Linked DNA regions of Homo sapiens: regions 1, 2, 3, 4, 5 and 7 are each linked to region 6. The links are contacts of gene promoters, found by promoter capture Hi-C in blood cells and fetal thymus (Javierre and others, 2016). All regions are on one chromosome and are shown on one strand. Each heading gives the region's core, a stretch centred on a gene start or on the middle of the fragment in contact. The rest is flanking DNA. Distances are from core to core; before and after follow the strand shown.

What was found. Contacts are between HindIII fragments. The CHiCAGO score rates a contact against its expected background, and 5 or more counts as called.
Region 1: a contact is called between a fragment that was not itself captured here and the fragment with the promoter of GDNF-AS1 in region 6, in 6 of 17 cell types (M2 macrophages, M1 macrophages, M0 macrophages and 3 more). The highest score is 9.2, in M2 macrophages.
Region 2: a fragment that was not itself captured here is called in contact with the fragment with the promoter of GDNF-AS1 in region 6 in 2 of 17 cell types (megakaryocytes and endothelial precursors); the score reaches 7.1 in megakaryocytes.
Region 3: a contact is called between the fragment with the promoter of EGFLAM-AS4 here and the fragment with the promoter of GDNF-AS1 in region 6, in 2 of 17 cell types (M1 macrophages and M0 macrophages). The highest score is 6.0, in M1 macrophages.
Region 4: a fragment that was not itself captured here is called in contact with the fragment with the promoter of GDNF-AS1 in region 6 in 1 of 17 cell types (endothelial precursors); the score reaches 5.2 in endothelial precursors.
Region 5: a fragment that was not itself captured here is called in contact with the fragment with the promoter of GDNF-AS1 in region 6 in 1 of 17 cell types (M0 macrophages); the score reaches 5.9 in M0 macrophages.
Region 7: a contact is called between the fragment with the promoter of EGFLAM here and the fragment with the promoter of GDNF-AS1 in region 6, in 3 of 17 cell types (M0 macrophages, M1 macrophages and M2 macrophages). The highest score is 6.5, in M0 macrophages.

Annotation. Positions count from the first base shown.
Region 1 is chr5:38,211,355-38,215,592 of GRCh38, forward strand. No RefSeq gene overlaps it. Among named protein-coding and RNA genes, the nearest start is that of EGFLAM, 45 kb to the right of the region's middle. The HindIII fragment of the contact is 5,545 bases long and covers 1-4,238 here.
Region 2 is chr5:37,433,073-37,436,986 of GRCh38, forward strand. All of the region lies in intron 5 of WDR70 (WD repeat domain 70), which reads left to right. Among named protein-coding and RNA genes, the nearest start is that of WDR70, 56 kb to the left of the region's middle. RefSeq lists an enhancer at 1-63. The HindIII fragment of the contact is 1,471 bases long and covers 1,406-2,876 here.
Region 3 is chr5:38,288,542-38,292,612 of GRCh38, forward strand. It overlaps EGFLAM-AS4 (EGFLAM antisense RNA 4), which reads right to left and starts at 2,445. Exons shown (of 4, transcript NR_046219.1): 1 at 2,059-2,445. The region is part of intron 1 of EGFLAM (EGF like, fibronectin type III and laminin G domains); the gene reads left to right. The HindIII fragment of the contact is 6,902 bases long and covers 1,860-4,071 here.
Region 4 is chr5:37,398,245-37,402,412 of GRCh38, forward strand. The region is part of intron 5 of WDR70 (WD repeat domain 70); the gene reads left to right. Among named protein-coding and RNA genes, the nearest start is that of WDR70, 21 kb to the left of the region's middle. The HindIII fragment of the contact is 2,385 bases long and covers 355-2,739 here.
Region 5 is chr5:38,229,738-38,233,430 of GRCh38, forward strand. No RefSeq gene overlaps it. Among named protein-coding and RNA genes, the nearest start is that of EGFLAM, 27 kb to the right of the region's middle. The HindIII fragment of the contact is 2,904 bases long and covers 195-3,098 here.
Region 6 is chr5:37,837,455-37,841,229 of GRCh38, forward strand. GDNF-AS1 (GDNF antisense RNA 1) reads left to right here and starts at 2,430. Exons shown (of 4, transcript NR_145476.1): 1 at 2,430-2,584. It overlaps GDNF (glial cell derived neurotrophic factor), which reads right to left and starts at 2,587. Exons shown (of 3, transcript NM_000514.4): 1 at 2,053-2,587. RefSeq lists enhancers at 1-53, 1,511-2,448. The HindIII fragment of the contact is 7,909 bases long and covers 1-3,775 here.
Region 7 is chr5:38,256,477-38,260,416 of GRCh38, forward strand. EGFLAM (EGF like, fibronectin type III and laminin G domains) reads left to right here and starts at 2,083. Exons shown (of 22, transcript NM_152403.4): 1 at 2,083-2,375. The coding sequence starts at 2,279. It overlaps LOC124900966 (a long non-coding RNA gene), which reads right to left and starts at 2,190. Exons shown (of 2, transcript XR_007058739.1): 1 at 2,118-2,190; 2 at 621-1,155. RefSeq lists an enhancer at 713-1,214. The HindIII fragment of the contact is 7,534 bases long and covers 1-3,940 here.

The DNA of each region.
Region 1 (4,238 bases), core at 612-3,111, 370 kb after region 6:
AGGTTTCTTTGTTTCCCTTCTTCTTAGACTTTCCCTTAAGTAGTGTTTCCCCACTGGAGGATGCTCGAGAACAGAGGCTGGCAAACAGCTCGCTGGCCAAATCCATTCTGCTGTGTGTTTTTGTAAAGAACGTTGTAGTGGAACACAGTTGTGCCTATTTGTTTAGATATTATCTGTAGCTGTTTTTGTGCTGCAACGGCATAGTTGATTAGTCGTGACAGAAACCATATGGTCTGCAAAGCCAAAAATATTTACTGTCTGATCCTTTACAGAAAGAGTTTGCTGAACACTGCTCTAGAAGATAACCCAACATGAAAACAAAGCAAAACGTTTGTGGCCCTATATTGAAGGCAGTGGTTTGACTATGTCTTTTCACAATCCAATGGGTTTGATTATGTCTTTCCTATGCATTGGGATGAGTTGAGAGAAAAATACTCCCATCTTGGATTCAATAAATGTGTGTTCTCATCTTCACTGTGTTCCTAATTAGCTGTGTGTTCTTAGGTAATCATTTCATACCCCTCGATGTCTTTTCCCACTTATCACAATAATAATTCTGTAGTAATAGCAATAATTATAATAGTAATAGTAATAATGACTCTTGTTAAATGCCAGGTTTTGCTCTTGGCATTTTACTGTGAAATAATAGTGTGTGGTACTCTAAATTCACAAACCTGCTGGATTGTGAAAAGACATAGTCAAACCACCACCTTCACTATAGGACCACAAGAGTTTTGCTTTGTTTTCATGTTGGGTTATCTTCTAGATACTCTAAATTATAATTACTTGGGCTTTTCATAAATATTCTGATTCTGTTCTTACAGGCATGTGGTTGAATTTTGTGTCCAAATCCACTTGTAGGTAAATGTGGCCATGGGGCTTGCTTTGGGGAATAAAGTTTTAGAGGAAGTGATACATGTAACTTCTGACCAAACTTTAATGGCCAGGATGCACACATCCCCCATTCTCTTTACTCATCTTTCCTTCCACTATGGCAACCAGAAATGTTCCAGAAAGTGGGAGCTCTGTCAGCTGGGTCTCAGAGTATGAGCAATGCAGAGCAGAACTCCCAATTGAAACCTCATGGTGCATAAACATTAAACATACCTTTTTTAAAAAGCCAGTAAGATTTGGGGCTATTTGTTACTGAAGCACCAGCTAGCCTATCCTGACTAATAAGATATCCACTGAGATTCTGGTACTGTTCAAATTCTAGAGTTTTAAGAATACAAAGACCTCTTCTTCCTCAAAGGTGGGAACCTATTTGTTTTTGTCATGGGAAGATGTTACCCCATGATGTGCAGAGGAAGAAGTGATAGGTGACCCTGTTAGTCATATCTAGCATATTTAATTAGGATACAGAGGAGAGGTGAGGAGATGGACAAGGCTTTTTTTGAGTGAAGACAGTAACAATCCAGTTTAACCTGTTGTTATTTCAGTTATAGTTTTAGGCAATCTTATTCCCAAATATCTGCACTTGTGGCTATTTTAACATTTCATCCCTGCTGATTCCTTTGGGTTAAGGTTCTAATGGATCTTATTTAAATGTCTATGAATGCACTTGCATGCAGGTGTATGATTTTAGGAAGGGTAGTACATTAAGTTATTAGTAATCATAAATAAAAACCAATGCATCAGGTATTATTTATTGGAAGGTAAATGAATAGGGCCTAAGAAAGATACATTTTGGAAAGGAAAAGTCTCATAGACCGAGATTTCCTGGAAGTGAAGAACCCAAAACAGCTGGGGTTCAAGGTTCCAGGGGTTATTTAAAGACATGAGCAAATACCTTTCAAAAGAAGACATACGTGTGGCCAAAAAGCATATGAAAAAAAGTTCAACGTCACTGATCATTACAGAAATGGAAATCAAAACCACAATGAGATACCATCTCACACCAGTTTTCAGAATGGCTGTTATTAAAAAGTCAAAAAATAACCCAGCAATCTCATTACTGGGTGTATACCCAAAGTAATATAAATCATTCTGTTATAAAGACACATGCACACAAATGTTCACTGCAGCACTATTCACAAAAACAAATACACGGAATCAACCCAAATGCCCATCAATGATAGACTGGATAAAGAAAATATGGTACATACATACCATGGACTACTATGCAGCCATAAAAATGAATGAGATAATGTCCTTTGCAGGGACATGGATTTAGCTGAAGGCCATGATTCTTAGCAAACTAATGCAAGAACAGAAAACCAGATACTGCATGTTCTGTCTTATAAGTGGGAGCTAAATAATGAGAATACATGGATACATAAAGGGGAAAAACACACACTGAGGCCTATCAGCGCGTGTAGGGTGGGAAGGGGGAGGAGGATGAGGAAAAGTAGCTAATGGATACTAGGCTTAATACCTAGGTGATGAAATAATTGGTACAACAAACCTGTGTGACACACGTTTACCTGTGTAACAAACCTACACATCCTGCACATGTACCCCTGAACCGGAAATAAAAGTTTAAAAAAAAATAAAGACAAGGTGCCTAGGGTCAAGGGAGGACTGATAGAGAAAAGAGAATGAGGAGGGAGCAGAAAGAAATGTTAATCACTTTAACACAACTTTAAATGTCAGTCATACCTAGGATTGGTGTGAGTTTTTAGTTTAAAAAACTAAAAGAAAGAGGTTGGGCATATCATCATTTTTTGTCCAGTCAATAGTAAAAAAATCAACTTGGCACAAATAAAGGGGCAATAGGAATTATTTTAATAATAAGCATGAGGAGTACATAAGCCATGTACTTTTATCCCTTTGCATTTTTCATCAGAATACTTTCAGACTGCATGCTTCAATTTAAGTGCAGGACATCTGATGTGTAACATGGTCCTCTGGCTCAGATTGACACTTTCACTACATGTAGGCATTGGCTGGAATTATTTTGCAAGTTGGAGATTATTTCACATCGTTCCAGAATGGGCAATTAGGGTCTGTTTTAAGATGAGCTGTGGGTCAAGCTAAGGTATGAGTGGCCTTTTGCATGACCAGCAAAGACAAAGCTGAGTGTCAGCCACCACGGAAGAGGGTCTGCATCTGAGCAGGAAATGTGGCACGTGACTGTGTGAGGTGTGGCCCCTGCTACCAACAGCAACAGCAAGCCTGAGTGAGCACTCTGCCAGGCCCACGCAATCCTTCTCTGAGAATGCTGGCCACCAGGCTGCCATGTTGCCCAGCTCCTAAGGTACCATCCACTCCTGTTGTGACTGCGAGGGCTTTCCTCATATAAATACAGCATGAATGTGCTTCTGGGAGTTGTAAAAAGTGGTGGCCTTCTTGGTCCCTAAACTTTTGTGAGCATGTCACCTCTGATGCCATGGAGATTGACTAAGTTTTACAAGGCATGGGCCAAGTTTCCAAAGCTAAATCGTCTGAGGTCAAGCCGGGGGATGTGGGGACTCCCAAGAAGCTAATGGGTGACAGGAGATGGAGTATGGCTTTGAGCTCATGTCGTGTATTGGAGCCAAAGAAGGCTCTGGTGCTAGAATAGGATAAGGAGTTTTGAAAAGTGTCAGAACCCCTTGCTTTGTTGGGCAGAGCCAGATGAGAAGCGGTCCTCCTGGGACAAGCCTCAAGAGTCAGGACGGTATATTTCCAGGTGCCCAAAGGAATGGGACACACCGTTTACACATCACAGGAGTTTAGAGGAGAGAAGGTTAGGTGGGCTAAGTGATGTCATTTCTCCCAGTGTGCTTTTCTTTATTTTCTTTGACTTTGAGCATATATTTATTTTACAATCACTGTCTTAGACAGTTCAGAATGCTATAACAAATTGTCATAGACTACTGGGTGAGTTAAACAATAGAAACTTATTTCTCACAGTTCTAGAGGTTGGAATTCCAAAAGCAGGACACCAGCCTGATTGGGTTCTTTGTGAAGGCCATGTTCTTGTTGCCTCTCCAGAGGCTGGAGAGCAGGGATAGAAAAAGAATCCTCTCCTGACCCTTCTTACAAGGACACAAATCCCATTCATGACGGCTCCACTCTCATGACCTAATTACCTCTGAAAGGACCCAGCTCCCGAGACCATCACATTGGGTGGTTAGGATTTTTATATGAATTTTGGGAGGACACAAATATTCAGTTGATAATAATAAAAGAAAATAATATCTGTTTCTTTTTTAGCAAACTTAGCTCAAGCATGTTGATAAAAGAGGTGGCAACTCTATAAATACACACCATGAATTTACTATTTATTATCTACATTAAGTCACAATAATGACAAT
Region 2 (3,914 bases), core at 891-3,390, 400 kb before region 6:
TTGTTGTTGTTGAACAGAGTCTCAGTCACCTGGGCTGGAGTACAGTGGCACGATCTTGGCTCATTGCAACCCTCACCTCCTAGGTTCAAGCAATTCATGTGCCTCAGCCTCCCAAGTAGTTAGAATTACAGGTGTGTGCTACCACGCCTGGCTAATTTTTGTATTTTTAGTAGAGATGGGGTTTCACCATGTTGGTCAGGCTGGTCTCAAACTCCTGGCCTCAAGTGATCCGCCTACCTTGGCCTTACAAAGTACTGGGATTACAGGCATGAGCCACCGTGCCTGGCCTAAAATCTCAGACTTTATCAAATTACTTTCTATGACTCAGAGCTTAAACTTCTGTTTTTTGGAATTGTATACAGCCTGATTTGGAACTCTCTCTCTGGCTTTTATGTATACAGTTGGCCCTTTGAGAGGAATTGGCTCCAGGACTCTCCTGCTGATCCCCAAATGCAAGGATGCTGAAGTCCCTTATATAAAAATGGCATAGTGCTGTATATGTATAACACATACACCCTTGCTCTATTTTCTGCCTAGCAATTCAAACTCTAGTAAGGGAAAAATACTTGAAGTTCAGAAAGTGTCAAGATTTATATTATTCTCTCCTGGATGTTCATCATATTCATCTAGATAACCTCTATTTTTTGAAAGATACCAGAAATCTCTTTTCTAACCACCTACTTTCTTAGGCAGAATGGAATTGAGCACTGAACCCTGTGTATACTTCTGTTACAGCAACTGAAACATTTTCATTTGCCCATTTGTTTACCTGTCTTATTTTGCTTTTCTGGACTGACAGTTCTGTGTAAGCAGAGTCTTTGTTAATAGTTCTTTTATCATTAATCTAACCCAGTGTGTGGTATGTAATTAAATAATAAATGTTTCTTAAGTGAATGTTTAGTGAGTAAATGAAGGTATTAGTTCATTCTCACACTGCTATGAAGAAATACACAAGACTGGATAATTTGTAAAGGAAAGAGGTTTAATTGACTCACAGTTTCACACTTCTGGGGAGGCCTCAGGACACTTACAATCACGGCAGAAGGCAAAGGAGAAACACCTTCTTCATAGGGTGGCAAGACAGAGTGCGACATGCAAGCAGGGGAAATGTCAAATGCTTATAAAAAACCATCAGATCTTCTGAGACTCACTCTCAGGAGAACAGCATGGGGAAACTGCCCCCATGATCCAGTTACCTCCACCTGGTCCTGGGAATGTGGGGATTACAATTCAAGATGAGATTTTGGGTGGGGTCACAGCCGAACCATATCAATGAAGAAATGAATTAATGTTAAGTTAGTGTTATTAGATCTCCATAGTTTCACTAGAATAGACTTTAATTCTGGTTGCCTGCACTGGTAGCTGTACTTCAGTGATTTCTGCGAGAAAATAGCGCTCATTTTCAAGCTTCTTTTTGGCAGTCCTTACTGTCTTCCCCCAGCACCCAGCAACTTTGTAGCAGATCTTTGTTATTGGGTAGAGGTTTAATTATGGCTTATAGTTGTATGTGACCTTAGCCTAGAAGGGTTGTTTCTGATTTGTAAGTCATTTGAAATTTCTGTAAGGATGTTCATCAGATAGAATTGCTCATATTATTTTAGATATATTTACCATCATTGTTGTTATTGGGTGTAGACCACAGAGCCTGGGAAATAATCCTTTGGTTGGTTTTCAAAATTAAGCCAAAACAAAAAATGGTATATTTTCCTCTCTTCCATTGGGACTGTAGCTCTTGTTATGAATTCTGGTAATAAATTACTTCATCGAAGTCAAATAGTTTATGATGTTCCTTGGCAGGAAAATCTTGAAAATATTTTACTGTTATAGCAAATTTCACACTAAGCTATATTTCAAAAAGTCATTAGTAAAAGTTCTGGAAAAAGAACAGTCACCATCAAGTGATATGCTACCAAAAGATGGATTGCTACTATTTTAGATGATTTAGCTGTGCCAATTATATGGGATTTTTATGAGTTATGCCATGCATGACTTCCAGTAAAACTTTGATTTTAAATGTAAACATTTATTTAAATGGTTAATTCACTCCTAATATAAATACTAAGTTGTGTGTCCTTGTAAATTTTTTTAAGTGTTAGAAATTGTCTATATATAGGCACATTCTGCATTGAAATAAATGAAATAATTTTCATCCTATCTTTTTGGTGACAGTATTTCTATTTGCTGAGTGATGAAAAAGTAGTTATGAAATGAGGTACAAACTATGATAGACTCTTCTGTAAGTAGAACATTTCAAGTATTATCTTGGTTCTTGCAAGAATATTTAGCACTTACAAATGAGTTTTCATTATGTTCAAATGTGGTCAGCTGCAAAGAGAGTAGTGACTCAGATTATTCAGTGTAGGAATAGTCCAGAATTTGACCTTTAAATTGTTTTGGAATTTGTGTTTGAATATTGATATCTCTGAAAGAGGTATGTGCAGCACTTTCCACAGTATAGTAAACAAAACAGTAATGTCTTTGTCTTGAAAAAAACTGCAATTCCCCAACTGTTTCTTTACAGTCTAAAACAAAACTACCTTTATTTCTGTATTGTTGCAATCTTCAATCTGCTTTTAGTCTGGGATATAATAATTTGGTCTTAAAAGGTTTTCAGCTTTTGAAAATCTTAGTTATCTCTTGCCTCTCACTTACCAGGCTGGCCTGATGTGATAGCACCTGCTTTTCTTTATGGACATGATCATTACTCTAAAATTTGAGAGTTAATTAAAAATTACAATCTAGTGTGATGAACAAGGTAGACAGTGGGCCATTTATTCATTTCTAAAACCTCTCTGTGTGTGTATGTATGTCTGCCATATACCAGCTTTTTGGTGCATAGGGGATCCAGAGATGATAAATAGATATAGTCTTTGAGAAGCTTATATTTTGCAGTTTGATAAGGGGGTGGTGGTGGGGGAGATAGGTAAAAAATTACAATGTATTATCGTAAGTTCTGTGACTGAGATAAGGAAATGCCATAGAAATGCATAAGAGGGTCATTTAACCCAGTGTTTGAAATGTTGAGAAGTGCTTTGAGCAGCTGGTCACATCTGAATTGAGTTTTGAGGGATGAATAAAAATTAGCCAGGTAAAGAGGAAAAGAAGCCTGGAAAAACACTCTAAGATGATGTGGCCAATATAGGAGGTAAGCCTTGGAATACATAGTGGCTATCATTTATTGAGCTCTACCATGTGCCAAACTCTGTTAGGAGTTTGAAACCACTTACTTCACTGTAACCTGTGGGGCAGGTGCTATTATTCATAGTTTGCAAATGAAACTGAGAGTCATAACTTTGCTGAAGTCATCACATGGTTAATTAATGGCATTGCTAGTTTAAAAAACTCTAGCATTTCTGGCTTTTTCTGTAGGCTATTTCCTCCCAGCAAAGGACAGTTTCAAGATGGAGGAGATAAATAGTTACCATGCTGTTGAAAGTTCGTGTATGTAGATTAAGTTCTGTAAAGTGTGCAGAGGGATTTATAGTGACTTGTTTGTTCATTTAGAACTATTTACTGAGAGCCTCTTATGTGCCAAGAACTGTGCTAAGAATTAGGAATAAAATGATAAATGCCAAAATTGAGGTAGGGGGTGAAAGAAAGTGGGGACACTGAGGGAAGCCATAGTTTGAAAAAGCGGGATTGCAGAAGAAAAGATAACGATTGAGCAATAAATTTTAGGGGAAGTCAGTAGTCTTTTAGTTTTTGTTTTTTTACTATGGTAAGTATTAATACTTTGTTTATATGCTGAAGAGAAAGAGCCATAGCAGGGGAAAGATTGAAGATAGAAAAAGCTGTTAGGTCACATGTTTAATTAAGTAGATTGTGAGATGATTCTTGAATTTGTAATAGACATATAATATTAGTAGGATTAGCCTGCTCTTGAGTAATGAGACTTGAATAAACAATGAAACCTC
Region 3 (4,071 bases), core at 1,195-3,694, 450 kb after region 6:
GTTCACATTTAAGATTTGAGAGTGGAGTTTTGAGCTCCTAACGCTTTGGTTCATGAGCTGAGAAAATATAGGTCTCTTACCAATTATTGGAGAGAAGTGGTATTGTTCAGTTACATAATGAAGCTTAGGACAGACTAAATGCTAATTTTCTTGTGGTAAAAGACTCTCAGACTATAAGAAAGGAGATAACAAATATTTGTTTTTTCTTTAACAAGTTACATATTTCAGTTGTCTAGACAATATTAAATTAACCAAATTGTTGAGCAACTGCTTCTCTGGCTCTGTAGACCAGACATGTGTTGTTTCTTCAATATTGGGGTGGTTTTGAGTGGTAGGGAAAGCACTGTGTTATAAGGTAGAAGCAAGCCCCAAGTAGAAGCTACCCCACCCTCATGTCCTATAATTGGGTCTGTGATCACCACATGCTTTTATGAGGGTAACCTTAGAGAAACCCTCTGTGGCTCATCTCCTTATTAATCCAATTCCTGCCCTTATGGGGGAGTGGGAATAGGAAGTCTTCCTTTGGTGGTACAAAGCAGAACCTCTTTAAACTCAGGTCTCATAGCAAACCAGCCTCCCTGACACCCCTCTTCCTCTACTCTTGCCTCTTTCTTTTATGATATCATCTTCCTTTCAGTTTGCTAAGCTTGTATCCTGGAGTCATCTTTAATTCCTTTCCTCTCCTTCTCTACCTGCTAATTCTTCTTCCTTGGCAATTACTCTTTCTTTCCCCGCCCCCACATTTCAGTTTCCAGGTCTTATTTCAGATTCTTTTTACTTGAAACCTGTAATAGGCTCCTAACTAGCTTACTTTCAGTGTTTCTGATTCATACCCATCTGTATTAGTCGGAGTAAGCTAGATAATGCTGCAGCAACAAGCAGCCACAAACCTCAATGGCTTGAAACAAATGTGGTTCATGCTACACTGCCATGGTAGATTATAAGAGACTGATCTCTGAAGCATCTTTACTGAGTGACCCAAGCTCCACTACTTAGAATTTTGTCAGTTTCTGATAGAGGAGGAAAGTGGACAGAAGGATCTCACACTGACAAATGTTCTGTTCAAGAAATGACACTAACTTCCACTCACAACCATTGGCCAGAACGAGTCACATGGCAGAAACATGTAAACCTCTCATGGGCTTGGAACGCATGGAGAAATGGATATCGGATATCCTACACTGAAGGCAAGAATTCTATAATGAAGACTAGGGATATACAAGGAAGGCCAGGGTCCTGCATTCAAGACTAAGTTTCTCCAAAGAAGGCCAAGGTCCTCTAAGGAAGGCCACGGTAGTCTCCTCAAAGCACTCCATTACTTAAAGTCTTTTGGCAGTTCCCACTATCAAACAGCCCAGAATGTAAGGATCTCTAACATTTAATGAATAGCCAATATTTGTGAAGCACTTACTCTGTCAGGCACTTTGCTAGGTTCTTTATACCCATTATCTTAGCTCACAACAGTTATTCAGGTGGACATTATTACCCACATTTGACAGATGAGCAAACTGAGCATTAAAGAGTGTCTTAGTTTGGATTTTTCCAAAATCAGACCACAGAGATGAAGACTTGGGTGCCAGGAAGCCCAAGGAAGGGTCGGGGTAGAGGGTCAGTAATGTGATGAGTGAGTCACCACTGTGAGCAGCTGGGGCTCAGCACAGCTGCAGACCCTCTGAGAGCCTGTAGAACAGCGCTCCGCACTGTGGGCTAAGGAGCTGGACTAGTTTTCCACCGATTCCTATCCCTCCTTGGTTGAGACTTGTTCTTGAGATGTTAACTCCCCAGCAAGTCCACCTGCCCTGCCACAGTAGCCAAGCACAAGCTGTCAGCCAGGATATACCCATAAGCAGAGGCGAGGAAGCTTCAGTTTTCTGGAACTGTGCCGATAACCCCGACAGGATATGAGCATTGACAGCACATGTTACAGAACAGTGCAGTGAGCAAGATTTAAACCCAGTCTTGTTCCAAAACCCACTATCTGTTCACCCTGACCTCTTACTACTTGCTACTACTGGAGATAGCTCTGTGCTCTAACCAAAAAAAAAATGGATTACTGACCTCTCTCCAAACCATCTTGTCCTTTTCCTTCTCAATCCCTTTTTTCATGCCGTTTCTTCTTCCACTTGGAGTTCCCTTTGCCTCTGGCCTCCAATTCAAATTCCGTCTGTGCTCTGCCCAGCTCAGTTGCTTTCTCCATGAATGAAGCCCTTTTTGCCCTCTGGGATGCTGCCTCTCTCCTTTAAAACCCTACAGGGGTCGGCCGGGCGCGGTGGCTCACGCCTGTAATCCCAGCACTTTGGGAGGCCGAGGAGGGCAGATCACGAGGTCAGGAGATCAAGACCATGCTGGCTAACGCGGTGAAACCCGTCTCTACTAAAAATACTTAAAAAATTAGCCGGGCGTGGTGGCGGCAGTCGCCTGTAATCCCAGCTACTCGGGGAGGCTGAGGCAGGAGAATGGCGTGAACCCGGGAGGCGGAGCTTGCAGTGAGCCGAGATAGCGCCACTGCACTTCAGCCTGACAGAGCGAGACTCCGTCTCCAAAAAAAACAAAACAAAACCCTGCAGGGGTCAGTTATGCTCCTGCCACACTCACTCTGTGGTGTCTCGCATAGCAGGGATACACTTAGAGATCTTTTTCTGGATTAGACTGTAGACTCCTTGGGGGCATGGACTGTATTTTATTAAGTTGCTTCAAATATTTGGTGGAATAAGGCAGGTAAATATGACTGTAAATGTGCACACAATATCCATATGCATATTCATTTCATTTTCGGCCCATGTTGGCTGACCTTCCCAAAGGTCACACTGAAGTCTGGATTTGGGGAGGAGAAGGTTTTCTGTTTCTCTGCTTCCTGCACCACTACCAGCTTCTCTACTCACCCAACCTCTGGCATCTGTGTGGCCACTTGCAGTTTCCACTCCTGAGTAGGAACAGAAGAGGGAGCTGACTCATGAGGGCAGGGTGGTTTCCAGCAATTTGCAGCAGGTTCCTCTCCACGTGTCTCCACGTGTCTTATCTGGAAATGTGTACCTGTCATTATTCCCATTAGAAATAGAAGTGGAATGAAAATGGTTTGCTCAATTCTGATGACATGACAAAGAGAATGCAATTAACCTTAAGGAAAATTGCCCAGAAACCTGACACTCTCAGCCATATGCCAAGGATTGCTAATGATTAGGAGGTGACAAAAACCTTTGGCTTTGTTTGGTTCAGGGCTAGAAAAAGGAAGCAACTCTTCAGGGCTGTCACCTGGTATTCAGAGTTGCACTTTTCATAGTCTAAGAAAAATGGCATGGACCGAAGAGGGAAATTCCACCTGGCTCTTCCTCGCTTACATGTTTCTGAAGAATGGCTTTTAGATTTCTATTGCACTGCAGAGCTCTGCGTCAAGAAGTAACAGCACAATCAATGGCCCCAGCCTCGTCCATGGAGTCACTTTCTGGGTTTTGCAACCTGTGAAGTTTTCTAACATGGTAACCCCAACCCCTGCTTGTTAATATTGACCTTCAGTTTGAAATGCTGAGCCCAAGACAGAAACTTCTGGCCACAGATGGTGATTCACTCTAACCAAAGATAAGTGGCCTTTCTCATTTTCCCCCCAGATGTGCAGAAACAGAATATTCCTAATCAAATCCTTAACAATGTCTTATCACATTACTTGCTTCAATAATTTCCTGCACAGCAAATTTATAAGTTAATTATACAGTAGACAAAAAAAAGCATTTTCTTTTATCTGTGTTAAATGAGTTGCCTTCTGATTTCATTGTCCACTCCTTTGTTCTTACATGGCTAAGAGTTTGTTTGAGGAATGGCTTTGTCGTGTTTCATGTGTTTGTCACTGCTGCTTAAATGAAAAGTTTAAAAGGAAAACATTGAAAAAGTTGGCTGCCCAGTGGCGGTCTCTTGCAAGTACAGGTAACCTAAAAGTTTGCTTTCATCTTCCAGGTTTTGAAATCATCCCATTTGTTAATCACATGTGTTCCCCAGTTCGCTGCTGAATGCTAACTGAACACCCAGGTCTTGAGTTGATATTATTCCTGTATCAAAATTGCACAACTATTCCAGGTA
Region 4 (4,168 bases), core at 297-2,796, 440 kb before region 6:
CGCCCAGCTGATTTTTCGTATTTTTAGTAGAGATGAGGTTTCACCGTGTTAGCCAGGATGGTCTCGATCTCCTGACCTCGTGATCTGCCCGCCTCGGCCTCCCAAAGTGCTGGGACAGGCGTGAGCCACTGCGCCCGGCCGCACTTGGGGTAGATAATTTTTTAACACCTCCCTTCTTTATGTGATGAATTATTTTTAGTAATAATTATGAAATGAAATGAAAAGTAATCAGAAAAGCAACAGCTTTTGTAAATCTGTCAATGACTGTCAAAATCGGTATTCTTTGCGTATTCCTTCTCAGTACATAGTACAGCAAATTTGTCAATTTGCGTCTGTCTGTAGTTGATCAAATAAAGCTTCTAATTTCAATTTTGTACATTTTTCTTTCATATGAAATAACAGATCTATAGTATATATACACACATATGCACATGCATTCATGTGTGTGCATATGTAAAATTAAGAAAACAAACAAGAATAAAATAAGAATAAATTTGGCAGTTTCATTAAAATTTTTGTTTTACAGTAAGTTCCAGAAATTGCAATGTTGATTGTATATTTTTTCTTTTATCAGTTCTAGTGGCTTTTAAATATCTCTGTAGGTTGAAATATTTTGACTGGGCACTGTGGCGCACGCCTGTAATCCCAGTACTTTGGGAGGCTGAGGAGTGCTGATCACTTGAGGTCAGGAGTTTGAGACTAGCCTGGCCAACATGGTGAAACCTTGACTCTACTAAGAAAATACAAAAATAGGCTGGGCGTAGTGGCTCACGCCTGTAATCCCAGCACTTTGGGAGGCCGAGATGGGCGGATCACGAGGTCAGGAGGTCGAGACCATCCTGGCTAACACGGTGAAAACCCATCTCTACTAAAAATACAAAAAATTAGCCGGGCATGGTGGTGGGCGCCTGTAGTCCCAGCTACTCGGGAGGCTGAGGCAGGAGAATGGCGTGAACCTGGGAGGCAGAGCTTGCAGTGAGCCGAGATGGCGCCACTGCACTCCAGTCTGGGTGACAGAGCGAGACTCTGTCTCACACACACACAAAAAAAATTAGCCAGGCATGGTGACAGGAGGCTGAGGCAGGGGAATTGCTTGAACCCGCAAGGCCGACTCTGCAGTGAGTCAAGATTGCACCACTGCACTCTAGCCTGGCAACAGAGCAAGACTCTGTCTCAAAAAAAAATTTTTTTTTCATGAAAGTGTTTTTACAGAAAATTCATTTTATATTTGGTAAAAACTTCTAAATTTTTTTCTCTAAAAATCAGAGAAAATGGCTAAATGATGTCAAACATTGCCATTAAATGATCCATTGCTTTAGAATGCTTTTGGTGAAAACAATTGAGGTATTCAAACATTTACCGTTTTAAATTCTTTTGCCAACCATGTCTTTTGTTTTTTCTTTTGGCATCCATAGAAAACAGAATTGGATTTGCTTAGCATTTTGTTTCTTTGTCTTTATAATCTTTGTTTATTTTGAATCTAGTATTTAAATGCAGAAACGTAGTACAACAGGGATTGGAGATAGGAAATTACCCTTGAAATGAGCTTGAATGATTCTGAACCATGAAAAACAGTGTGTAGAGACCCGAGTAGGTGAGTGTGTTTGTGCATGTGTGTGGTGCAGATAACTGGGAGTTCTCCAGATTAACTTCGTGTAGAATACAGTGGTTATTTATTTTTATTATTTATTTATTCATTTATTTTTGAGATGGAGTCTCACTCTGTTGCCCAGGCTGGAGTGCAGTGGCATGATCTCAGCTCACTGCAACCTCCGTCTCCCGGGTTCAAGTGATTCTCCTGCCTCAGCTTCCTGAGTAGCTGGGATTACAGGCATCTGCCACCACGCCTGGCTAATTTTTTGTATTTTTAGTAGTGATGGGGTTTCACCATGTTGCCCCAGCTGGTCTTGCATTCCTAACCTCAGGTGATCCACCTGCCTCGGCCTCCCAAAGTGCTGGGATTACAGGTGTGAGCCACTGCACCTGGCCAGAATACAGTGTTTATTAAAAGATAAGTAATACAAATATGTTAATTGAAGTTCACATATATGTTATTAAAACTCGATAGGAACCATAGCAAAAAGAACATTAAGTAGTGTCTAAACTAACATTGTTTATAATTGCCATCACCAGGTGATAATAAAAAGCAGGCTTATCTTTGCTTGATTTTATCATTGTTTTTAAGTTCTCTACAGAAAAGTGTACTCTCTTATTGTCTACATTACTTCCACTGATCTCATAGAATTAGTGTCTTTATAAAAAGAGTCACCAGAAAGCGTGCACTAACTCCTCCTCTCCCACGGGAAAGGAAGAATGGCTTTTTGAGGACATAGCAGAAAGTGGTCGTCTACAAGCCAGGAAGAGAGGTGTCACCAGAAACCACATTTGTCCATATTTTGATTGTGGACCTCTAGCCTCCAGACCTGTCAGCAAATACATCTCTATTGTTTTAAGTCACCCAGTCTGTGGTATTTTGTTTATGGTTGTGTGAGCTAATACAGGTTTGCAAGGCTGACTAATGGCTGATAAACAGAAGGGAAGAAAGAAGCATATTGCAAGCCAGAAAAAAATTGCTATAGCGAAGGCCCAAATGTATATAAGTACAGCTATGGTCATGAAATTGTACCTGATTAGTGCATGGCTGAGTTTTCTTACTAGGAGAAAGTAGAAAGATGAGGAGGATGAGATCAAATCCAGAAAGTATGAATAAATACTCTCTGGAGGATGTGTAATTTGGTAAGCTTTGTAGAGGATTACAGTTTTTGTGTTTTTTTGAGATGGGGTCTCTCTGTCACCCAGGCTGGAGTACAGTGGTGTAATCAAAGCTCACTACATCCTTGACCTCCTGGGCTTAAGTGATCCTCCCACCTCAGCCTCCCGAGTAGCTGGGATTACAGGCATGTGCCTCTACACCTAGCTATTTTTTTTTTTTTTTTTTTTTTTTTTAGTAGAGATGAGGTCTTACTACATTGCCCAGCTCGTCTCAAACTCCTGGGCTCAAGTGATCCTCCTGTCTTGGCCTCCCAAAGTGCTGGGATTACAGGCTTGAGTCACTGCCCAGCCAAAGATTAATTTTTTTTTTTTTTTTTGAGACGGAGTCTTGCTCTATTGCCCAGGCTGGAGTGCAGTGGTGCAATCTCGGCTCACTGCAACCTCCGCCTCCTGGGTTCAAGCAATTCTCCTGCCTCAGCCTCCTGAGTAGCTGGAATTACAGGCACGCGCCACTGCACCCAGCTAATTTTTTGTATTTTTAGTAGAGACGGAGTTTCACCATGTTGGCCAGGCTGGTCTTGAACTCCTGACCTCAGGTAATCCACCTACCTTGGCCTCCCAAAGTGCTAGGATTACAGGAGTGAGCCACCTTACCCAGGCCAAATTTTTTATTTTTAAAATTTTTGTAGAGGTGGGGGTCTCACCATCTTGGCCATGCTGGTCTCACCTGGGCTCAAGCCATCCTGCCACCTTGACTTTCCAAAGTGTTGGTATTACAGACGTGAGTCATTGTGCCTGGCCAAGATTATATTTTTAAGGATTTTTTTTAATTGACAGATTATTTTTAATTGACATAATTGTACATATTTCTGGGGTAGAGTGTGATCCTCCACACCTGTATACAGAGTGTAATGATCAAATCAGGGTGATTAGCATATCCATTGCGTAAAACACTGATCATCTCTTTGTGTTGGCAATATTCAAAATTCTCACTTTTAGCTCTTTGAAAATATGGAGTAAACAGTTGTTAACTATAGTTACTTTACAATGCTATAGAACACTAGAACTTATTCTTTCTGTCTAGCTGTAATTTTGTATCTGTTAACCAAACTCTCTTTATACCCCTCTTTTTCCTACCCTTTTCACCCTTTCGTTTCTGTTTCTACTATTCTCTCCACTTTTATGAGATCAGTTTATTTAGCTTCATCTGAATGAGAACATGTGGTATTTATCTTTCTGTGCCTGGCTTATTTCACTTAACACAATGTCCTGTAAACTCATGTTTGTTACTGCATGTGACATGATTTTATACTTTCTAAATTTAGCCAGATAGTATTTGTGTGTGTGTGTGTGTGTGTGTGTGTGTGTGTGTTTTAAATTTTTAAATCCATTCATTTATTGATGGACACGTAGGTTGATTCCATATCTTGGTCATTGTGAATAGTGCTGCAGTGAA
Region 5 (3,693 bases), core at 397-2,896, 390 kb after region 6:
TATGCTGTGTGATCATCACTACTGGGACACTGTGGTTATTACTTACACTTGCCTCTGGATCTTATTCTAATAAGGAAGCACCTATATCACAATTTCTTAAATATTTAGATAACAATATTTGAATATTATTGGTTTTGTAGTGCCAAGTAATTCATGTTATACATTTAAATATACTATTCTGAGGGAGGTCCTTAAGCTTCATCAGGCTGTTAAATAGGTCCATAGTACAAAAAAGTTTGACTCCGTGTCTTGGATATGGTGGGGCCACAAGACAGAGGAATCCTGGATCCTTGAATGACTGCTTAGAGCAGGCTCCTTTCCCTCCCTTTCCCACTCTCCCACCAATCTGCGTTAAACTCAGACATGAGTGAGAAATAACCAGACATTTGCAACGGCTTATTCCAGCAGTTAGTCTATGACTGACACAATCCTAGAGGAAGAGGAGTAGGGAAGAAGTTAACATTCTGAATGTTGATGTGAGCATTTTGAAACTCAGTTTTCTAGCTCTAACTTTCACACATTTGGCTGCTGGGCCTTCACCTTTGTGTCCTCAGTGATGAGTCCTTTATGGTTCAGCAGAATGAAAGCAACTTATTCTCCAACAGCCTTATATCAAGCACTCTTACAGCTGCATCAAAGTTCAGCTTGAGAAGGGACACACAATCGAGCTGGTGTGGTTCAAGGACAGGATTTTAATTGCTCATAAAACTGGCATGCAGTAGTATCTGACTATGTACACCACAGTTGCATAAAAAGACAGCTAACCAGCTCTGCCAGAGCATACTAAAGAGCACTCTAGCGTTTTCCATTTAAAATTAATGTTTCTTTCAATGCAGAAGCCATGACATCTAAAACATGCAAATTTATTTTTACAATTGACTTTAACACTAAAAAGACATTTGGTAATTAAATGAGTTAGGAGAGTGTGATTAGCAATGGCTGAGCATGTGCCTCTTGTTATAAGTTTAGAGGGAAATTGCTTTTTCATTCCTTTTCTTTTCCTGATTTAACAGAACATTTTCCCATAGTTCTATTTTAATGAGCTCCTAATGATGTTCTAAGTATTCCCTTTTACATTGTTATAGAGCAATGGGTTTATAAACCTAATTAGGTTTGATGATTATAAAAATTCAAATCAATATCACATCTATAACATGCAATTTATTTTTAACTTCAGTCTATCTGTTGGTAGCTAATGCATTGATATTGTTTAACTTTTAGCTTTTTACTTAGGTGTATGGGCAAACAAAATACTGTAAGTAGCACTCTTAGGTTCCCGACACTTAAATTTCAAGGAATCATCTAACACTTAAAATTGGCTTTGTTCTTGAGCAGCCTAAATATCTTAAGAGCATCTTATCATTCAATTTTCTAAATAATTTTTTGTATAATTAGATAATACAATGCATATACTATCCAAACAAAATAAAAGAACATCCAATAAAAAAGCAAGTCCCCTTTCTCCCTTGACTTCTAGAAACCTAGTTTTCTTCTCTGGAATCTACCACTGTTAACAATTTATTTTATATCTTCTCAAAGTATTCTGTGTATATATAAATAAACATGTATATATTTCAAGTTTCCATACAAATATATTAAACTATAAATATTCTCTAGAACTCTTCTTTTTAAACTTAACAATAACTTCTATAAGATCTTTCCATACACATATATAAAGAACTTCCTCCCTTTTCCATATAGTATTCCAGTTTATGGATGTGCCATGCGCTGTATTTAGGTTGTTTCCAACCTCTTGCCGTAACAGTGTTTTAATGAGTAGCTTTGCCCAATAATGTCATTTTGCACATATGAGCATGCATATCTATTATCAAATACCAATGAGCACAGGATATAAGCATTTTTAATGTGATAGATATCATAAATGATTATTATTATATAATAAATTCTTTGCAACAACTGATGTTGGACTCCTCCACTAGGGAGGAATTCTCCCAAAGAATTCCAGTGACGCAAGGTCCCAGCGATTTGTTTGGCCTCCCTGGTCCTGCAGAAGGGCTAAGTAAATAAAATAGCCTAGACCTAAAGATGCTGAACAGAAACAAATTTGTAAGACACCGAAGCGTTTGGGCTTGGGGTAGGGAGGTGAGAGAGGAGTGAGAGAGGTTGGGCGGGGTGAGAAAACAACAATTGAGAATTAAGACCAGCCAGGCTGAAGATGCCAGGAAATGCACACGTAAGAGAAGGGGGGTGGTACCTGGAAAAGTTCATTGTGCAACTGTGGCAAGAGACAGAGAGAGAGAACATGGGACCTGGAATTAGAAAACCTGCGTTCTAATTCTGCCTCCATCACTTAACTACAGCTGTGTGATCTTGGATGAATTAGGATAGCAATACTTACTTTGCAAGGTTGTCATAAGGAATAAAGAGACAATGCACGTGAAAATGCCAGGTAACCCAAGTGAACTTGACGAATGTTAGTGGAATCTAAATAAATGTAACTTTCAACATGTGTAAGTACAAAGGAATCCTAAATACTGAAAGTTCACCAGAACATCAACTCCATAAGAGCCAGGGCTATGTTTAGCTGCTTTACTGCTATATCCCCTGTGCAAAGAGTTGACATTGAATAGATGTCCCATGAATATCTATGAAAAGAGTGAAGTTTGGACCAACTCTGCAAAACTGGAGAAGGAAATGAAAATGCAAGGAGAAAGGCTGGTTAAGGATGGAGATAGAGCTTTGGGAATTCTGTGCTTCTAATGATCATCTTAATCATTATGAGGAAAACCTAATCATGTATCTTATTAAAATGTGTTGATTGGATAAACATGTGAATGAATAAACTCTTTAAGGTGCTTTCCAAAATTATTTCATGAAGTGAGTAAGCTCCCCAAACCCTAGAGGAGGAAAGGGAAAGGGTATTTGTATTTGAAATATTTGTATTACAGTGATTTGAACTGTTGACAAAGTTGTTCTGTATTTTATTTTTCTATAGCTTTAAACATTTTTTGACTCATGTTTTGGTTGGAATAAAGCATTCTGGTTGCCTATTATTGGCTACATGATTCTAAAGTCTGCTGTATTAATGTTGCTTCTGTCTCCATATGGAAATGTATAGATAAGAAGATAAGTCCTCAAGCTTTCTCAGTGATCAGGCAGAGATGAGGGAATTAAATGAGAGAAGTTAGGTCAGATGATCTTGAAGGTCCTTTTCTGCCCTAAAATTGTAGAATTTCATGAATAAAAGCACAATGGGAAGAGCAGGGGTTAATTAAAAAAACAAACAAACCTGGATCCTTATGAGAGAGAAGCCACATTACGTGTAGAAGATTATAACAAACGCCTCACATTTATAGAGTGTTTACAAAGGGGCAGGCTCTACATAACTGTTTCACTTAATCCTTACAATCCCTGTAAAAGAATTGTTGGAAATTTTGTCTGGTATCAAGCAGCTGGAAAGGAGGCGATCTTTCTAAGCACATACCATAGTTTAAAGCAGCAAAGTTGCCAACAATAACTGGCTTTGTAAAAATAATTGCTGCCCCAAATCAAAGAACTGTCTTCCACTGAGTTGAAAGGGCTATTAATCTGGGGGTGGTCTTCCAGGCACAGAAACATGCAGAGATAATGTCATCTTTGACTCGGAAGGACAGAGTTCTGTGTGACATGGAAGCCTGAGTGGTTATGACTTCATGGGACAGGGCTTCTTTGCTTGGCTTTTTCCCCTATCTA
Region 6 (3,775 bases), core at 1,180-3,679:
GCACCTGTGGGTCCCCAGGCCTGGGGAGGCAAGGACGCCCAGGAAAGCCACAGAAGTGCTCGCAGAAGCAGCCGCTCGCCGCGAGGCACTTCTGAGTTCCCGGCAGCAGGGGGCACCAGAAACCGTCTGAGCCGTGTCGCGCCCACGCGGCCCGGAGGCTGTGTTATCATTTTAGTTATAAAACCGGAGAACCACCACTCCCTCTACGAGCCTCCCGAAATCCCATTAGCCCGGGAACCTGTGGAGGTCCTTACTGGCATCTCTGCTTTTCAGGCTCCCACCCCTCCATTCTCGCTGGTTTTCCTCTCCCCACTTCACCTGAGCGGGTTTCTTGGCAACCTGCTTTCAGACCATCCCTCACCCCTTCCACGCGTCACCGTGACAGATTCGCAGGAGGCAGCGCTCCCGCCGTCAGTGCCCCCGCACCTTCTTGTGCCTGGCAGGCTGGGAGGTTTGTTTGGGCTTTGCCTTCAAGATCCAGGTCTCAGAGAGAGAAAAAGGAGGCGGTGGGGCGGGGAGACGGGTTTGCTATAAACTCGGTTTTTTTTTTTTTTTTTTTGGCGGGGGGAGGTAGAGACAGAAATTGCTGGAAGATCTATTGCTTTTCTTAACTATGCTTCGTGTCCTTGACTGACAGAGGACTTATTCTCCCCTCAACCCCCCATAACTGCGGGGCCCAAGATGAGGGAAGGAAAAAGAATTTGGGACACTTCTCGCAGGCAAACTGGGAAAGCGGTCTGTTTAAAGGGCCAGGTTCCAGGCCCGAGAGCACCCGAATTGCTAGCGGGAAAGGGCTAGGGACACGGCGGACTTCCCAGAGATCGGACACTTGTTACTTGTTGAAAAGGCGCCACCTTCCCTGACAAAGCGAAGGCGCAGCGAAACAGTACGAGTTTGGTCGAGGCCGGCTTTGACGGCTTTGCGGGACTGGGTGCGTGAATGAGGTTGGAAGAAACATCTCTTCCTTGAAATACCTAAGCATATATTCCAAACACTGAGCAAGAGTCGAGCGCGTTCTAACATCTCCGCAGCAGGGGCCGGAAGAGTTGCCTTTGTCCCCGCCTATGAGCAGAAGGGTCGCGAGCTCTGGGATGGGTAAGCCCCCCGGGGGCGCGCACATGGGTCCTGGCGGCGGATTCTACCAAAGCCGAAACTAGCTGGGCCCCAGGAAGCTGGCGGGAACCCGCGAAAGTCCGTTTCCAGCCCGAAGAGGGTTCGTTTTTCTTCGTTGGGGCAGGAAACAAACCACCAGTGCGGAATTAGCCTCGAGGTGGTGTAAAGTAGTGGCAGTGGTGGTGGGGTGTTTTTGGAAGGCGGCACAGAGTACAGGAGAAAAAGGGGTCATTAAAATAATAACCTCAATGGCCTAGTGGAGTCTCAAGAATACGTTCGAGACAGAGATTTGAATCCAGGACTGGCAAGAAAGCCCCTCTCCTAACCTCGACGGGGATGGTTAGTTGGGGTGGAGGGCGTTAGGAACGTGCAGGCAACCGGGTGAGGAATGTAGCTTTGCCAGACCTCGCCCGGAGGAGGTGAGCCCTCCATTTTTAGGTTCTCAGCACCTTTGCAGCAGCCCCTCCCCCGGCCTGCGCTTTTCCTTGGCACAGATCAAAACAAGCTCAATAGTAAGTTGCACTCTTGGCAATGATAGTATCTCTGCACGTCCAGAGAGGACACATTTCGACGGCGGTGGGTTCGAAGATGACCCAAGCCCTGAATCGTTCTGTGACTTGACGGAAGAGCACCTGGCCGAGTCGGGGAAGGAAACTGCCCCTCTTGGGCATTCCGGGTCCAGGCGCATCTGGGGCTCCACAGATCTTTGCCCACGTGGAAAAGGCAACATGCCCCTCCGAAAGGCCGGCCTCTCTCCGGTTCTACTTTTCTCTCTCCTCGCATAGCTTAGGTTCCCTCTAGTCTTTCCACTTTCTACTCTCACCGTTTGCTCTGGGGTCCAGACGCACCCCTCTGACTAGGGCGCCCTTCAGCCGGCCGCACCCACCCGCGACGCAGGCACCACCCGCTCCCTGCTCCCCGGCCCGCTCCCTCACTTACCTCGGATCGGGTCTCCGCAGACCCTAGGTTGGACATTAACTCCAGGTGCCCCAAGTCCCAGCCAGGAGACCCATCCGGGCTGATGGCTGGAGCGCGGAGCCCCGCCCAACAGGTCAGGGGCAAGAGTTCGCAATCCTGGGGTCGCGCGGGGCAGCAAGGGCGCGCTGGAGGCGGCGGCCAAGACTCCCGCCGCCGCCGCCGCCAACAGGGCGAGGGCTGCCGGCAACTCTCCCGCCGGGCCCCCGCACCCCCAGAAGCCGAGGTCCGAGCAGCCGCCGCTGCTTTGGGTGGGGGGCTGACAGGGCTGCGCGCGTCGCGCTCTTGGCTGGGGCTGCGCGGGCCCGGGGCGCTGCGGGCGGCTCAGCGGCAGCTGCCGCGCTCTGCGCCTCCTCTGGGCGCACTGCCTGGGAGCACGAGACTGGTTTGTCTGATGCTGCTGCCGGAGCTGAGGTCTTGCCTGGAGATCCGAACGAGACACCACGTCAACCGGCGCGGGGAGTCCCGTGAAGACATGAGGGCGCCAGGAGCGCAGGCTGGTCTTCTAGAGCCCGGGCTGGGGGTCCGGGGTCCGGGGTGGGGGAGGGGAGGCGCGGGGCCCCGGGAGGGAGGGGTCGGGAGGCGTCGGCTGGGCCTGGCGGTGGGGGAGGAGAGGAGAGCAGCGAGGAGGCCCTGGAGTTCCCGAGGCGGGGGGCCGGGGTGCGAGTGGGCGACGCGAGGCGCCCCTCCCTGGGCTGCAGGGAGAGCGCTGAGAGCGCGGAGACGCCGCGGGGCTAGCGCCTTCTCCTCTCCGGGTGGATCAAAAATCGAGAGGAATGTGCGGCGCTCTGCGCGGGCCAGCCGAAAGGGGCAATCCGAACTTGACCGCGGCGCCCGCGCCGGGCTTTGCCCCCGCGCGCCGCACTGGGAGGGTGGCGCTCTGCCGGTGCAGGGCAGCGCCGGGCTTTCCTCGCGCCTGTCGAAGGCCGGCCTTCCCGCTCGGGTGTCTCGCCCTCTCGCTTCTCCGCAGGGCAGGAGGCAGTGGCGAGAAAAGGAGCTGCCGGCCGGAGTTCTAGCACCGAGAAGGAGAGGTGCGGAGCGGCCGGGTGAGGGAAGCCGAGTATTTGCCAGGGGACGCTGCGAGTGGGGATGAATTTATAGGGCTCTCACTCCGTGACGTGCCCTCCAGTGGCTTTTCTGATTCGCTTTCTGACCTAAACACACATTAGTTTAGTCCCCATGCTAAGGCCAACACGGTCTCCAAATATCTGCTGGCTGAAGTCAGAGGCTTTGCATATCATGTATTACATGGCAGGCAATGAAGAAGGCTTCTGAGGCTGGCCGGCTCCTCAGTCCTAGGCTCCATTTTCATGCTGTTGTAATCTAATACCAGACATGGGGCAGGCACATACATTCAAAATCCCAATTCCAGAGGCGTAAGATCACTTTATCAGGAACGGGTTAGGGGAGGTTGAGCTAAACCTGCTTTTATCCAGATTTTCGAAAATGCAGATGGGAAACTTCAGCAAGCGCCCACTTGGATGCTGAGTTTCCAGCGATCAGGGGCCCGGCCCCCATTCCAGAGCTCTGTGGATGGGAGAGGTGAGACCTTCTGGGCATTCCTTTTGTTGGTTAGTTCACCACCAGAAGCTGCCTGAGCCTTCTTTTGTAGAGGACAGGAGGAGGGCAAGTCCTTACACACCCTGTGCATGGCTATAACCATAAATACATTTCATTCACATGGGGC
Region 7 (3,940 bases), core at 833-3,332, 420 kb after region 6:
CTTCCCATGCTTCAGGTTCCTCACCTGTAAAAGGCGAGAATAGTAATGACAGTATCTTCCTGGTATGGTTGTTATTGGGATTAAAATGCACTTCAAAGAAGGTCTGGTACATAGGAGACCTTAAATAAATGGTAGCCATAATATCAACGATTATTATTACTTCCAGTTTCAGCATCACAGAGAATCATTTTTAAGTAGGAAAGCCTGCATGGGAGGCATCTGCATTGCAACACTCGCTTGGTTCTGGGTGCCACATTAAGTCCGAGATAAGAAATCACTTTCGCATAAAGAAAGGCCTCTAACAACTTCTCAGCTGGCGCTGGAGGAGCTCTCTCACACAGGTGGAGTTCAAAGGGAGGTGGCACGACCCGACACCAATGCTGAAAGCAGACTCCTGCGTGGAGTGGAGGCATGGCCTAGATGACCTTTAAAATGCTAAAAAGTCTATGATTTTGAGACCTTTGAGACTAGCAGCCTTGGGGGCAGTCACTTTGCTTAGCTTAGTGGCCGGCTTTATGGTCACCTTGGACGTGAAGAGCATAGTTCTGTCTGAACTTTGCTCCAGTTCTATGTAAGAGGACAAGCTCTGGTGTCACAGCTAAAACTTCCAAATACTCAAGTTGGAGGGGACTTTGAATTTATTTGTGAACAGACAATTGCACACTTGAAAATGCCAACACATAAGGGAACACACTCAGCTTTGCTAACTAACAAGATTGAGCTCATTACAAACTCTCCAGCCAGGGGATATTTCATTCTTAAAAGAGGAGTAGAAATCCTGTGTGTGTGTGTTTGGGGGGCTGGGGAGGGGAGAAGAATATATCAGTCAACATTGTTTCCTCCCGCGCTCCCAAACATAGGCTAACTGTGAAGAGCCAGGACGCCCACCGAGTCCTGGCAGCGTTGCAAGGTGGGGAGGGGGCGGGCGCGGTCCTGTCGCTAGTGACTGCAGATTTCCTCTGCGGGGCACTTCCTACGGCCTTTGATCTTTCCCCAGGAACTGCCGAGGGCCGCGTTTGCCTCTAAGTTTATTCCCTCTTGGTTTATTTATTGTATCTGCTTTCTCTTCTCGCTGGTTTGGAGGTCAGAACGCCAGTATGCAACGGGACTTGTGTCCCAGGCAGGGTCTCCCCTCTCCAGGCACTACCGCGAAATCTGGCAAAAGGTACATTTTACTGAGTCCTAGGGCAGCAAATTCAGCGGCGGAGAAAGAGTCTTTCTCCATTCAGGAGACAACCCAGGAAGCCCGATCCCGGGATCAGAGGCCAGGACCCCGCCCCGGCCCCCTGCCCCAGGCCCAGCTGGGCGCCGCCCAGGGGCTTTTCTCGGTCCGCCTGGGGGCTCGAGCTCGCGTCCCTCCCTAAGACGCCAGGCTTAACTTGGAGTTTCATCTCCTCCCCAGGAGGGTCTCAAGTTGCCTTCCTCTGCCGGGAAGGGCCCCCACTCCCCCGCTCCAGGCCCTAATCTCCACCCGGCGTCCCAGTCTGAGCGGCCTGGCCTCAGCTCTCCATCTGCGAGCCTTAAATCCCATTTATCTTCTTAGCGCCTCAGACCCGGACGGTCCCGCCTCTCTTCCTCTCACCCCCACCCCACTTGCAAATCACAGACCCCCGTCTACCCCTCGCATCCCCCAAGTGCGCTGGACCAACTACAGCAACCTTTGAGGTGTTAGAAAAAGTCGCCTAGAGGGGCGCGGCAGGAGGAGGGCCCAGGTGGGGTGGAGGGGGGGCGCCCCAAGATTTCAGGGTGAGGACCGCGGAGGGTCCTGGACCCGCAGTCGCCTAACTCCTGCCCTGCGTCTCCAGTGCTTGAAGTCGGTCCCTCCCAGGTCCCCAATCTAGGTCACCAGCGGGGAAGGGCTGCGCTGGGGGTCGCTAGAGAGGGTGAGGGGCGGGCTGTCTGCTTCCGAGGTGGGCGAGGAGTGAAGGTTTCAGGGCCTGTCCCTCTCACTTCCACTCGATTGTAATTTCATCCCCGGGCCGGTCGAGCCTCCCTCCCTCCCGCGGCCAGCCCTTCCCTCCCAGTCGGCCTCCTTCGTCGCCCCCGCCCCCGCGAAAAGCCCTGCAGCTTGCAGCCGGCTTCACTCGCGCACGCCGACCTCCCGGCTGCAGTCCTACCTCTTGGAACTACCCGTGTTTCCGGGCCCAGCCCTCGCAGCCCCCCACCTCCTCGCCCCGGCCCGGGGATCCGTTGGGGCCGCGTCCCCCACGCGCCCCCGGAGACGCCCTTTCCGTGTGCGCCCGGGACTTGGTGAAACTTTGCAGGCGCCGGCTGCGAAATGGATTTAATCCGAGGCGTCTTGCTCCGGCTCCTGCTCCTGGCTTCCAGCCTCGGACCCGGCGCGGTGTCGCTCCGAGCGGCCATCCGAAAACCAGGTAATGCGCTCCTCCGCCCAGAGCCACCACGCCCCGAGCGCCCCTGCTGGGCTCCGGGGCGAGGACACAGAGCGGGCAGCGCACCGCCTCCCTCTCCCCGACCAACGTCTGCTTAACTCGCTTCAGCTCTGCCAGGAGCTGAGAAAAGACGCAAACCTCGCCCTCCCCCGAGCCCGGGCGGCGCTAGGGATATTTATTTATTAAAAGAATGATCAATTTTCCAGACATAGTAGATAGAGGTGGTGGTCCCCGTGTTTGACCGCAGAGAGCTGACAGTTGGGACAGCGATCGTGCTGTCTCAATTACAGAGGATGGCAACCATGCAGAGGAGTCAAACCAGCCCCTCCTGCGTCTCCAAACATTTTACTCAATTCATATTGTCCAGAGCCCAGCCATTTCCTGTTAAGTGTCTGAAGGGTTGCCTGGAGCCCCCTCTGCCCATCTCGGGTCCTGCCCACGCGTTGTGCAGGGATGTGGACTCTGCTCTTAGCATCCTCTTCCACTCTGGGGCCATTTGTTCAGAAGGAAGCACCCAGTGGGTTAATTTTACCGTGTTTTGAACTCCTGTCTTTGCTTTGGCATTTAAACAAAGAAATGTACGTTGTAACCTGTTATAAGGGACTGGGAATTGGGGGAGAACTTGAAACCATAATAACGTGTGTTTCCTCTAGCTGCATATAGGTAAAAAGTCTTCGTTTATTTTGGTCTACTTTGATTTGGCCTATGCTGTGAGATTATTCAAAGTAGAACATTCTGAACAATGAAGTTCTAAACATTGTTTCCCAAATAACGATTTTTATTACTTTTTGCTGGGACCATATTTAGAATTCTGAAAAATCTGTTTTGTCTTAACTTACTTTGTAAGGGAGGTTGTCTTATGGGATTAATTATATCTTATGAACAATGGAAAACAATATTACTTTTATTTGAATGCAGTCTGCAAAACCTCACAGAAAGTGCAGTTTGTCTTCACAAACGTTTCTGTAAGAAAGAGGCAAAGCTAGGAAAATTTATCAGAGGGCAGAGAAAATCGTCTTAGCGGGATCCCATGTGAATGCTTAAATATTTTCGCATTGAAACTCTCTATCTGGAAATATGACTTGTTGCATTTCGGCTCTGGAAGCGTCCTCAGTCTTTGCACTGTGTCTCTTATTACCAGCACTTGTTACCTGCCTTGAAATCTAAGGTCATTATCATAATCTACACCATATTTAAATTATGAGCCACTCCATTTATGAGCTCTTCAATTCATTTTGGAGATAATAGCTTCAGTCCAAGGTAATATCACATTAAATTGTTTCTCTTCCTGCACGCACACATACATATACCTTCAAGGATTTCAGTGAAGGGCTTCTTTCTAACTTTCCTCCTTAAGATAACCACATCACGATCAATTGCATTTTGCAGATTTATTCACATGAAATCATCTATTAATTGTCACAATTTTTAAACAAAGCATAGTTATATCTATAGTTTTAAAGCATGAACAGTGTATGCAATGCTTTTTAAAGGATATATTTTAATCCATTTAAGGGGAATTTTTAAAAAGCATTTTATAAAAACCT